Linked DNA regions of Homo sapiens: all the other regions are linked to region 1. Evidence: promoter capture Hi-C in 16 types of primary human blood cells and fetal thymus (Javierre and others, 2016). All regions are on one chromosome and are shown on one strand. The core of a region is centred on a gene start or on the middle of the fragment in contact, and the rest is flanking DNA. Distances in the headings are between cores, read along the strand shown. Region 1 holds the start of OGDH (oxoglutarate dehydrogenase). Region 2 has its middle 27 kb from the start of PURB. Region 3 overlaps CCM2 (CCM2 scaffold protein).

What was found. Contacts are between HindIII fragments. The CHiCAGO score rates a contact against its expected background, and 5 or more counts as called.
Region 2: a contact is called between a fragment that was not itself captured here and the fragment with the promoter of OGDH in region 1, in 1 of 17 cell types (non-activated CD4 T cells). The highest score is 5.0, in non-activated CD4 T cells.
Region 3: a contact is called between a fragment that was not itself captured here and the fragment with the promoter of OGDH in region 1, in 2 of 17 cell types (monocytes and total B cells). The highest score is 8.3, in monocytes.

What each region holds. Positions count from the first base shown.
Region 1 is chr7:44,604,592-44,608,936 of GRCh38, reverse strand. OGDH (oxoglutarate dehydrogenase) reads right to left here and starts at 2,310. Exons shown (of 23, transcript NM_002541.4): 1 at 2,284-2,310. RefSeq lists enhancers at 1,321-1,660, 1,336-1,899, 2,151-2,750 and a silencer at 1,881-2,110. The HindIII fragment of the contact is 8,395 bases long and covers 1,664-4,345 here.
Region 2 is chr7:44,909,817-44,914,309 of GRCh38, reverse strand. No RefSeq gene overlaps it. Among named protein-coding and RNA genes, the nearest start is that of PURB, 27 kb to the right of the region's middle. RefSeq lists enhancers at 1,707-2,206, 2,207-2,708. The HindIII fragment of the contact is 6,622 bases long and covers 1-4,493 here.
Region 3 is chr7:45,015,858-45,020,144 of GRCh38, reverse strand. The region is part of intron 1 of CCM2 (CCM2 scaffold protein); the gene reads right to left. Among named protein-coding and RNA genes, the nearest start is that of CCM2, 18 kb to the right of the region's middle. The HindIII fragment of the contact is 4,740 bases long and covers 1-4,287 here.

The DNA.
Region 1 (4,345 bases), core at 1,061-3,560:
ACTATAGTTTTGCACAATGTTAGAGAAGTGGGAAAGGAACACAGGATCTCTCTGTACTATTTATTATGACTGCATAGAATAAATTTTTATGTACAATTTCTTAAAATTTTACTGTTTTCAAAATGAATTTCTCAATAATTTGTACAATGATCTCAAAAATTACCTAAAAATCTAAAAAGTAGATGATACTGTAGTTTTTTCTTTCCTTTTTTTTTTGAGATGGAGTCTTGCTCTGTCGCTCAGGCTGTAGTGCCGTGGCGCCATCTCGACTCGCTGCAACCTCTGCCTCCTGCGTTCAAGCGATTCTCCTGCCTCAGCCTCCTGCTGAGGCTGGAGGAGCTCAGCCTGTAGCTGAGACTACAGGCCCACGCCACCATGCCCTGCTAACTTTTGTATTTTTAGTAGAGACAGGGTTTCACCATGTTGGCCAGGCTGGTCTCAAACTCCCAACCTCAGGGGATCCACCCACCTCGGCCTCCCAAAGTGCTAGGATTACAGGCGTGAGCCACTGCGCCCGGCCTTTTTTTTTGAGACAGGATCTCACTGTGTCACCCAGGCTAGAGTGCAGTGGGGCAATAATGGCTCACTGCAGCTTGGACCTCCCTGGCTCATGCCATCCTCCCGCCTCAGCCTCCTGAGTAGTTGCGACTACAAGTATATGTGGTATATGCCACCATATCCGGATAATTTTATTTTTTGTAGACGCCGGGTATCACTTTGGTTGCTCAGGCTGGTCTCCTTGAACTGAGCTCAAGGGATCTTCCTTTCACACTCCCAAAGTGTGGGGATTACAAACGTGAGCCACCACGACTGGCCGAAATTGTGCACGTCAAATGGGTGAATCGTATGGTATGTGAATTTTATCTCAATAAAGATGTTATTTAAAGGGAAAAAGTAACTGAAATGTGAAAAGTGCGCTTAAAAAAAATAATGAGGGGCCGGGCGCAGTGGCTCACGCCTGTAATCCCAGCACTTTGGGGGCCGAGGCGGGCGGATCACCTGAGGTCAGGAGTTCGAGAATAGCCTGGCCAAGGTGGTGAAAACCCGTCTCTACTAAAAATACAAAAATTAGCCGGGCGTGATGGCGCGTGCCTGTAATATCAGCTACTTGGGAGGCTGAGGCAGGAGAATCACTTGAACCCAGGAAGGCAGAGGTTGCAGTGAGCCGAGATCGCGCCACAGCACTCCAGCCTGGGCGACAGAGACTCCATCTCAAACAAGACAACAACAACAAAAAATGAGCATACAGTGATCTTTATTCAACTTCCCAAGATCCAGTCCTCAGCTAATTTACAAAACTACAATAGTGTTACATACTCTCCTAGGTCTACACGGCAAAGTACAGTTTGACTGTTGCAACTAGTGCTGCCTTACAAAAAAAGGCTTTATCCCATGCCACCCATCCTAAACCCAGCTGTTCAGAGCAGTGTACCTGGAAATCAGCCTCAAAGTACGGACTGCAAGACAAGGCACAAGGAAACCCTAACACGAAGTCCTATGTTCTGGGCAAAGGGATGGGGATGGCAGGTGGGACGCACCCAGGTCAGGGCGAGGGCGCGGCAAGTTTTCTATTAAATCTCAGTAGATTACAACTCATATCCAATGTCTGATATATTTTCGAGGGAAAATGGTGCTTGAAAGATGTTTCTACGAGAAATAAGCTTCATCTCGGTCAATCTGTTCGACCCAACTTCTGGCAGCAGGTGTGGGGGCGGCGCCAAGGTCTGCGCGGTAATCCAAACAGGCAGTCCCACCCAGGGCCACCCCAAAGCCAGATGCTCCGACGCAACTCGAGCAGGCCACACTGTCTTTCGGACAAAGCGACGCGGTCCTCACAGGCGGGAAGGAGAGTGCGTCCCGGTCGGGAAGGACGCCGTCGGAGAGCGGCCTAACCACGTGACGCCCGCGGCGACCTTGGGGGTCACCCCTGCGGACGCACCGCCCTCTCCCTCACATCCGCCGCCGCGCCCGCCCCCCGCTCGCCCACCGCCAATGGCGCGTCGCTCCGCGCCCCGCGCGACCTCGGAGCCCGCCCGTACCCGCCAATCTCCGCCCGCCGGGCAGGCCCCGCGGCTCCATTGGCTGCCACGGCCATCCATCAGGTCCCGTCCCTCCTACCACCCTCCGTGAGCCCCACTCCATCCAGCTCCACTCCCCTGTCACCGCGGCGCCCGCAGCACCAAGGGCGCGGCGGCCTCCCCCTTTACCGCGATCTCCAACCCCGGGCCGCCAAGCGCCGCGACACCCGGCACTGGGACGGGCGCGGCGACAGCGCACGGTTACCTGTCTCCGGCTCAGCTCCACCCGAATGAGGCGCCGACACCCCACTCCGGGGCTCCAAACTCTCGGCCCCGCCCCGGCGTATGGCGTCAACACGTAGCCCTCCCCTGGAGAAGAATGCCCTCCCCTCTTACAGAGGACCGATTCGTGACGTCACAGAGCCGCGCCGGGCGTCACAGCGCCGACTGCGCAGTTGCAGAAGCCAGGGCCAGCTGGAGCCCAGCTGTTTGCTCCGCTAGAGAGATGAGGTTGTCTATGGACTTCCAGCGGCTTCTGCTATCATAAATAATTTCTGAAAGTAAGATATCTCTAGCGCCTGGTAGGAACCTATCAAGAGATAGTTGGGTTGATGTGAAACTTAGCGCACAAAAATAAACAATTTGAATAACAGAATCTCCGTTTTTGAGATTGTCCTGGGTCAGGCTTTGTGACAAGCGCTTCACCGGCGCTATTGTGTAACAATCTGTGAGACAGGTGTTCCTATCCCCGGTCTACAAATGACAGTTGGCAGTGCTGGGATCTTGCCCGGGATCTTGCCTGGGTTTTCTTGACTTTAGAGCTACCTATCAAAGATAAAACGTGGCTAATTAACCTGTCACAACCTGTTGATTGTAAGATGTTCCCTATTTTAAAGTATTAAAATTTGGGGAAAGGCCGGGCGCGGTGGCTCACGCCTGTAATCCCAGTACTTTGGGAGGCCGAAGCGGGCGGATCACTTGAGGTCAGGAGTTCGAGACCAGCTTGACCAACATGGGGAAACCCCGTCTCTACTAAAAATACAAAAATTAGCTGGGCGTGGTGGCGATCCCAGCTACTCGGGAGGCTGAGGCAGGAGAGTCGCTAGAACCCGGGAGACGGAGGTTGCGGTGTGCCGAGATCGTGCCATTGCACTCCAGCCTGGGCAACAAGAGCGAAAATCCGTCTCAAAAAACAAACAAAAAAAGGGGGCGTATAAGTGCTTATTATAGAACAAAGTTAGGGTAATGTATGTGACAAGGATCTAGAGACTGGAAGAGGTGAAGAGACCAAGGAACAAACTTCTGTATTCTTTTTTCCTTTTTTTTTTTTAAATAAATTACGGTAAAAATGTATGTACTAAACATTTGCAGCTGGGTGCAGTGGCTCACGCTTGTAATCCCAGCACTTCGGGAGGTGGAGGCGGGAGGATCGCTTGAGCTCAGGAGTTCCAGATCAGCCTGGGGAACAGAGCAAGATCTCATTTCTACTAAAAAATCAAGAAAATTAGCCAGGTGTAGTGGCACTCACCTGTAGTCTCAGCTAATTGGGAGGCTGAGGCAGGAGGATCTCTTGAGCCTGAGAGATTGAGGCTGCAGTGAGCTATGATTGTACCACTGCACTCCAGCCTGGGCCAGAGAGCAAGATACTGTCTTTTTTTTTTTAATGCCATTTTAACCATTTTTAGGTGTATAACTCAGTGGCATTAATTACATTCACAATATTATGCAACCGTCACCACTCAATTTCCAAAACTTTTTCATCACCTGAAACAGCAACTCTGTAACCATTAAGCAATAACTTCCTATTTCCCCTTCTCCTCCTGTCCTTCTCTCCTTTGGTAACCTCTATTATACGGTCTCTATACATTTGATTACTCAATTACTTTATGTGGGTGAAATCATAATGTATATGTCCTTTTGTGTCCACCTTATTTCATTGAGCATGAGGTTGTCAAGGTTTATCTGTGTTGTAGCATGGGTCAGAACTTCATTTCTTTTTTTTTTTTTTGAGACAGGATCTCCCTCGGTTTCAGGCTGGAGGGCAGTGGTGCCATCTCAGCTCACTGCAATCTCTGCCACCCAGGTTCAAGTGATTCTGATGCCTCAGCCTCCCAAGTAGCTGGGACTACTGGCACGCTCCACCATGCCTGGCTAATATTTTTTTCTTTTTCTTTCTTTCTTTTTTTATTTTTGAGATGGTGTTTCGTTCTTGTTGCCCAGGCTGGAGTGCAGTGGTGTCATCTCGGCTCACTGCAACCTCTGCCTTGTAGATTCAAGCAATTCTCCTGCCTCAGCCTCTCAAGTAGCTGGGATTATAAGCGCCCGCC
Region 2 (4,493 bases), core at 1,309-3,808, 310 kb before region 1:
CAAACTGCAGATTTGTGAGCAAAATCAATGTGATGTTGCTTTTAGCCACCAAGTTTTCAGGCAGATCAGGGGTCCTGGAGTAGGTGTCATTGAAACTGGGCTCTGAAGGCACCCAAAGAGGGAGGGAGGGAAAGGGTTTGAGGAGACCATGGGTGAAGGCCTGGGGCAGGTGCACAACCAGGGGTGGGAAGAGGCAACTCCAGGTGAGAAGGCAGAGCTAGGGCAGGAGTGTGTGGAGGCTGGAGGGCCAGGAGAAGAGGCCAAACCATCTCCCTCAGGGCTCCAGGCCAAACCATCTCCCTCAGGGCTTGGGAGCCATGCCAGAGGGCCTGGCATAGTTGAAATGCTCATCTAAAGGCCAGGTGCAGTGGCTCATGCCTGTAATCCCAGCACTTTGGGAGGCTGAGGAGGATGGATCACCTGAGGTCAGGAGTTCGAGAGCAGCCTGGCCAACATGGCGAAACCCCGTCTCTACTAAAAGTAAAAATAAAAATTAGCTGGGTGCGGTGGCACACTCTGTAATCCCAGCTACTCGGGAGACTGAGGCAGGAGAATCGCTTGAACTCAGGAGGCAGAGGTTGCAGTGAGCCAAGATCGCACCACTGCACTCCAGCCTGGGTGACAAGAGAGAAACTCCGTCTCAAAAGAAAACAAAAAAGAAAAGAAAAGCAAAGCTCATCTATACAGTCACTGTTTGGACCTCAGAGTGCACTTGGCCAGAGAAGCAATATTTTGAATACAAACTGAGTTACCACGCTACCTACAGCTCAGTTAGATGGCTGGACACAGCGACTACGGGATTCCATCAGTCACCCTACTCTCACAGCCTGTCTACCTCCGTCCTATACAGGTTTTACTGACCCAGAATCCAACAAAGAGTAGGTGCTCAATAACTGTGGATGATTTTTGAGTGGTTCTAAATCTGAGCACTCCCATACTGTCTGAACAAATGACAGCTTGTGTCTGTGTCCCAAAGTGTGCCATCAGGAGCAGGCTCTCTAATGGACCATGCGTGTGAAGCAGCCTGTGTGTGAAGCAGGTTTGTAAAGAGAGCCACGTGGTGAGCTTGGTGGTGGCCAGAAGTCAGTGACCAGCCAGGAGGAAAGGAGCTTCAGGTAGACAGCTGATCTGAAGGCGGGGGCTGGGCCTGGGGGTTGGGGGTGGGAGGGCAGGTAGGAAAGAGGCCTGGACAGATCCAGGACCTGCCTCACCTCGGCCTGGCCATTCTGCCCTTAGAAACATTCCTATCTCAGGGCCCATTTCCTGCTTTCCTTCCTGAAAGCCTATGCAGGTCCTCCTCATGCCAGGGCCTATGTCCCCCGAGGCTGAAGGGAGGGCAGCAGGGTGCCTGGTGCTTCCTGGTGCCTCTATTTGCTGAATCTGGCCAAGCCACATGGAAGAACACACAGCTGGTGAGGAGCAGAGACTGCAGCTTCTGGAAATGGGATGGGAGTCGGCCCTTTCCTAATATCCCACACTGTCCAGAGCTGAGAAAGTAGATGCAAGGGTCGGGAAGATGGCAGAGAAAGCTGACCTTAAGCACAGAACCCCGCCTTGTAGTTCTGTACTTCATCAGCACCAGGAATGTGATGAGCCCCTGGGCTCTCAATTTTGTTTTGCAATTGAGATTTTTTTTTTAATTAAAAGAAATGATGTTCTTATGCCTCCTTTTAAACAGTTTCTCAGATATGGCTCAGCCCACAATGCACTTGGAGAGGTGTTGACCCGTCCTGAGCAGAGTTGAAACTGCCCTCCCTGGGGTGGGCAGTGAGCCTGAGAGCCCCAGCTGTTAGAAACCCTGGCTCTTCTCTCTCACTCTGCCCCCAGGGACAAATCATGCCATCTCTCTGGGTGTCAGTCTCTCCCTATAGTTCTGGAGAGCTGAGTTGGCATACCTCTGAGACCAGCAAAGTCATCATAAAAAGTTCCCATTATTGGGAATGAAGCAATTTCCCAGGTCCGTGGGAAGACTATGGAATTGGGTCACAAGTCACAGATGGAAAGGCATGGGCCACAGTGGGGGACTGGGTCCCTTCTTGGCAAGAACCCACCGGGACACAGTCCCTGCCTGTCATTCTGCCTTGCTGGCTGCAGGCCCAGGACCACCGGCCAGAAGCCATGAGAGATCAGGGCAGGACACGGGCAGCTTCAACGGTCACCCCAGACTGAGACACCACACGGGCCCGGGCCTCAGCCCCACTCTGCCCTGCTGCAGAGGCCATCTGCCTCCTGGCCTTGTGACTTCCTGCTGGGACTGAGCCCAGCACTAGCCCTGGCTGTATGGGCTGCAGCCTGGATCCCCATTCACCCTGACTGCTGACCCCTGACCCCTGAACCTCCTTGGGTTCCTGCCAACGTCTTTCTTCCAAGGCCAGGCCTGAAGTTTGGCAATCAAGACGCATGGATTTCTAGGATCTAGAAGTTTGGTCAGCCAAATCATTACCATCTAAATGACCCCCCAGGGTCCCCGTAATACATTTTAAACTTTTTAATTGAAGTATAACAGATATATATCCTAAGTATTCAGTCGGTGACTTATGCAAAGTGAGCACTAGGTCCTTTCATGTGCTGTAGGCCATTTGTATGTCTTCTCCAGAGAAATGCTTTGTCAGGTCCTTTGCCATTTTTGAATTGGGTTATGTGGGTTTTTTATTGTTGAGTTTTTGTTCTTTTTTTTTTTTTTTTTTTTTGAGACAGAGTCTTGCTCTGTCACCCAGACTGGAGTGCAGTGGCACCATCTCTGCTCACCGCAAGCTCCACCTCCTGGGTTCATGCCATTCTCCTGCCTCAGCCTCCCGAGTAGCTGGGACTACAGGTGCCCGCCACCATGCCCAGCTAATTTTTTGTATTTTTAGTAGAGACGGGGTTTCATCGTGTTAGCCAGGATGGTCTCAATCTCCTGACCTCGTGATCTGCCCGCCTCAGCCTCCCAAAGTGCTGGGATTACAGGCGTGAGCCAGCGCGCCCGCCGCTTTTTTTCTTTTTTTTTAGTGACAGTATCTTGCTCTGTCACCTAGGCTGGAGTGCAGTGGCGCAATTATAGCTCACTGTAGCCTCCAACTTCTGAGCTCAAGCAATCCTCCTATCTCAGCCTCTCAAGTAGCTATAACTACAGGCGTGTGCCACCATGCCTGGCTAATTTCTTTCTTTCTTTTCTTTCTTTCTTTCTTTCTTTCTTTCTTTCTTTCTTTCTTTCTTTCTTTCTTTCTTTCTTTCTCTCTCTCTCTCTCTCTCTCTCTCTTTCTTTCTTTCTTTCTTTCTTTCTTTCTTTCTTTCTTTCTTTCTTTCTGAGACGGAGTTTCACTCTTGTTGCCCAGGCTGGAGTGCAATGGTGCAATCTTGGTTCACCACAACCTCTGCCTCCCAGGTTCAAGCGATTCTCCTGCCTCAGCCTCCCAAGTAGCTGGGGTTACAGGCGCCCACCACCATGCCTGGCTAATTTTTTATATTTTTAGTAGAGATGGGATTTCACTGTGTTGGCCAGGCTGGTCTCGAACGCCTGACCTCATGATCTACCTGCCTCGGCCTCCCAAAGTGCTGGGATTACAGGCGTGAGCCACCATACCCACCCACCTAATTTCTACTTTTTATTTTTATTTATTCATTTATTTATTTTTGAGACAAAGTCTCACTGTGTCACCCAGGCTGGAGTGCTCACTGCAACCTCCACCTCCCGGGTTCAAGTGATTCTCGGGCCTAGCCTCCCAAGACCAGGAGGTGTGCACCACCATGCCTGGCTAATGTTTGTATTTTTAGTAGAAACGAGGTTTCCCCATGTTGACCAGGCTGGTCTGAAACTCATCTGCCCACTTGTCCTCCCAAAGTGCTGAGATTACAGGTGGAAGCCACCGTGCCTGGCCTTATTTTTATTTTTATCTTTTGTAGAAACAGGGTTTCACTATGTTGCTCAGCCTGGTCTTGAACTCCTGGCCTCAGGTGATCCATGGTGGCACAAGCCACTATGCCCAACCTCAGCTTTAATTCTTTATATGATAGCCTGCATATTAATCCCATATCAGATGTATGCTTTGCAATTATTTTGTCCCATTCTGTGGTCTTCCTTTTTTCTTGTGTTGCCCAGTCTGGACTCATCCTCCTGAACTGCTCTGCGGGCCCCACCCACAATGACAGAGCCTGAGGCCAGGCCTTTCTGAGCCTCCTTCTCTTGAGCTGCTGTCAACCTGGTTTCTCCAATCTTGTCTTTCATACAGGATTTCTTTATTAGTAGTATTTGCACAGTAGTTAAATTGGGAAACATAGGAATTTTAAGGAAAAGGAAAAAGGCACCCACAATTCTACCATGCCTACGAATAAAATCATTTTCTGTGCTGCCTTTGAATCTTTGTCTATGTTCATAGATTAATTTTAATAAACATTGTGGGGGTGCAGCTGAACCACTGAAGTTCTCTGCCTCGCACAGAGATCTTTGCCAGGGTCTCTTGTGGATTTGTTTTGTTTTGCTTTGTTTTTTGAGGCAAGGTCTCACTTTGTCA
Region 3 (4,287 bases), core at 1,046-3,545, 410 kb before region 1:
GTATGCCCCAGTCTCAGAGGAGTGGAGCAGAGAAAAAAAAGCTGCAATTTTATTGGCCTGACAGGTTAAAGGAGGATTTGAGACTGCTAAAGAAGCTGGAAATTGAGAGGGAAATATAGGAAAGGAGGAACCCACTAAAAAAGGAACCCAAAGTCTGAGTATAAGGTCCCCTCAAATCTTTGGCTGAACCCTGAACTGCGTAAGCGGAGGTGAGACTCCCACAAGCCCAGAAAGGACACGATAGCTTGAAGGTTGAAGGAGCAAGCTGATGGCTGGGTGCGGGAGCTCATGCCTATAATCCCAGCACTTTGGGCGGCCAAGGCAGGAAGATCACTTGAGTTCAGGAGTTTGAAACCAGCCTGGGCAACATAGTGAGACCCCATTTCTACAAAAATAAAAATTAGCCAGATAGTGCATGCCTGTAGTCCTACCTACTTGGGAGGCTAAGGTAGGAGAATTGCTTGAGCCCAGAAGTTTAAGGTCACAGTAAACTATGATCACACCATTGCACTCTAACCTGGGTAACAGAGCAAGATCCGTCTCAAAAAAAAAGCTGAGATTTTAGCTCTCCCTAGCTGCAGGGTAGATAAGAGTTTGGAGTCCAAGTCCTGCCAAGTTAAAGGGGCTTAATCAGTACCTTAAACACTTGAGACTATCCATTTGAAACCCCACAAAGGCCACATCTTAGGAGTAAAACATACATTCCAGGACTAAGAAATTTACCCTAAGAGTAAGGACAAAGATCAAAACTGATCTACCAAACCAAAGTATAAAACCCAGCCAGGTGCGGTGGCTCATTCCTGTAATCCCAGGAGGCGGAAGCAGGAGGATGGCTTGAGGCCAGGAGTTCAAGACCAGCCTGAGCAACATACTGAGATTCCATCTATATTTAAAAAACTTTTTTCATTAGCCGGGCACAGTGGTGCATGCCTGTAGTCCCGGCTACTCAGGAGGCTGAGGCAGGAGAATCACTTGAACCCGGGAGGCGGAGGTTGCAAGGTTGCAGTGAGCCGAGATCACGCCACAGCACTCCAGCCTGGCCAACAGAGTGAGACCCTGTCTCAAAAAAAAAAAAAAAAAAAAAAGGCCAGGCGCAGTGGCTCACGCCTATAATCCCAACACTTTGGGAGGCCGAGGCAGGCAGATCATCTGAGGTCAGGAGTTCGAGACCAGCCTGGTCAACATGGCAAAACCACATTTCTATTAAAAATACAAAAATTAGCCTGGCATGGTGGTGCATGCCTGTAATCCCAGCTACTTGGGAGGCTGATGCAGGAGAATCACTTGAATCTGGGAGGCAGAGGTTGCAGTAAGCTGAGATTGCGCTACTGCACTCCAGCCTGGCGACAGAGTAAGACTCCATCTCAAAAAAAAAAAAAAGAAATTCTTAAAACTGTCAAATAAAAGACATTCAGTACAACAAAAATGACAGGTAACTTCTCAAGAGAAAAAATGGATGCCAGAAGATAATGAGTCTTCATCTTTAAAATGCCAAAAGAAGCTGGGCATGGTGGCTCACGCCTTGGGAGGCTCAGGCAGGCAGATCACTGGAGGTCAGGAGTTGAAGACCAGCCCCATCAACATGGTGAAACCCCATCTCTGCTAAAAATACAAAAAAAAATTAGCTGGGCGTGGTGGTATGTGCCTATAATCACAGCTACCCAGGAGGCTAAGGCAAAAGAATCACTTGAACCCAGGAGGTGGAGGTTGCAGTGAGCAAGATCACGCCACTGCACTCCAGCCTGGGTGACAAAGCGAGACTCTATCTCAAAATAAATAAATAAATAAATAATAAAAAATGCTGAAAGAAAACAGTCAACCTAGAATTCTATATCCTGTAAAACAGAGGTCCCCAGCCCCCAGGCCACAGACTGGTCTGGGTCCGTGGCCTGTTAGGAGCCAGGCCGCACACAGCAGGAGGTGAGTGGAGGGCCAGCAAGCATTACCACCTGAGCCCCGCCTCCTGTGAGATCAGTGGCTGCATTAGATTCTCATAAGAGTACAAACCCTGAACTGTGTGTTGGAGGGATCTAGGTTACGCACTCCTTAGAGAATCTAATGCCTGATGATCTGATATGGAAGTTTCATCCCAAAACCTTTTCCCCACTTTGGTCTATGGAAAAACTGTCTGCCACGAAACCGGTCCCTGGTGTCAAAAAGGTTGGGGACTGCTGCTGTAAAACTATCCTTCAAAAATGAAGATGAAATGAAGGTATTTTCAGATAATAAAAGGTGAAACAATGTGTCAGACCTACACCATGAAAAATTCTAAGCAAGGTCTTCAGGCTAAGAACTAAAAATAAAATCCTAAGCACTCCAACTGACTGAACAAAGCCTGTTTTGGTTCCAGCCATGACAAGATGCCTTGGGACGCACCTCATTATATTCCCTCCCTTTTGTAGTTCAGGCACAACTGACCAGCATTAATGTTAAAATAGAGACCACAAAACTGACAGAATGGACTCTGTGGCAATAAAATACCAAATTACATGCGTTCATGAAGATCATGGGGAAAAAAAGACACCAAATTATAAACAAGACCTACGACCGTGCCAGGTAAGGATTCAGCCACACAGTCTGACTCTTCAAGATCAACTCTGTTCTAACTGCCACAGGGTTCTTCTTTTTCTCTAGCAGCCAAACAAGCACTGTCCTGGATAAGCAATAGGAAAACAACTGCAACTCACCACCAGATGCCAACTGACCTCCTGTTCCACAAGCCAAAACTATAGCTGTGACTGTATAAGAGACTGACTTCAGTAACTCTCTCCTGACAAGAAGACCACCAGCCACAGACTGGTTCTAGCCAGTTTATAGAGGCTGTGCACTTGAGTGCCCTGTCTCCTTGCTTCACCTTTTGAGGTATGGGGCCTGAATATAATGTTGTCTCCACCTCAAAGTGAACATGGAATGCAAAGAACATGCCTGTCTGGAAAAAATAACTGTCAGATACTACGCTTAGTACCTGGGTGATGAAATAATCTATACACCAAATCCCCATGACAGATGTTTACCTATATAACAAACCTGCACATGTACCCCTGAACCTAAAAGTTCTTTTAAAAATGAATGTTTGGGCCAGATGCAGTGGCTCACGCCTGTAATCTCAGCACTTTGGGAGGCCGAGGCAGGTGGATCACGAGGTCAGGAGATCGAGACCATCCTGGCTAACATGGTGAAACCCTGTCGCTCCTAAAAATACAAAAAAAATTAGCCAAGCGAGGTGGCTCACGCCTGTAATCCTAGCACTTTGGAAGGCCGAGACAGTCAGATCACTTGAGGCCAGGAGTTAGAGATCAGCCTGGTCAACATGGTGAAACCCTGTCTCTACCAAAAATACAAAAATTAGCCAGGCGTGGTGGTAGGCGCCTGTAATCCCAGCTACTTGGGAGGCTGAGGCAGGAGAATCGCTTGAACCTGGGAGGCGGAGGTTGCAGTGAGCCAGGATCGCGCCACTGCACTCCAGCCTGGGCAACAGAGCAAGACTCCATCTCAAAAAAAAAAGATGCATGTTTGGGCCAGGCACAGTGGCTCATGCCTGTAATCCAGCACTTTGGGAGGCTGAGGCGGGTGGATCACCTGAGGTCAGGAGTTCAAGACCAGCCTGACCAATATAATGAAACCCCGTCTCTACTAAAAATACAAAAATTAGCCAGGCCTGGTGGCATGCGCCAGTAATCCCAGCTACTCAGGAGGCTGAGACAGGAGAATCGCTTGAACCCGGGAGGCAGAGGTTGCAGTGAGCCAAGATCGCGCCATTGCACTCCAGCCTGGGCAACAAGAGTGAAACTGTCTCAAAAAAAATAAATAAAATAAAATAAATTGCATGTCTGTTCAGTACACATGCATCAGGACCCCCTCCATGAATATTCATAACTCCTCCTATAACCTGTTGAATATGTATATACTTGGTCAGCACAAACCCATTCAGCACAAATTCCTGTTCCAACCCCTCCTCCTCTGAAGTGCCTACCTTTCAGGCTCTGCCAAAGGCTACGCTTCCCAGCCTGTGGGATGGCCAGCCTACAGGTTGCAACTCTTTGTAAGAAATAAAGTATCCTTTCCAAATATGTACATTTCTTGAATTTTTAAGTTGACAAGGCCAAAGGTAAATTATTCCAGATGGAAATTTTCCAGAGGAAATAAAAGTGCTAAAAATGATAAAAGGAGGGATAAACAGAAAAGATAAATTTTCTTTCTTTTCTTCGGTCTTTTAAAAATGTCAAATCATGGCTTTCGGATGGGGAGGTGGGGGCAGCATCAGTCTGTCAAGCTGAAAAGGGCAGA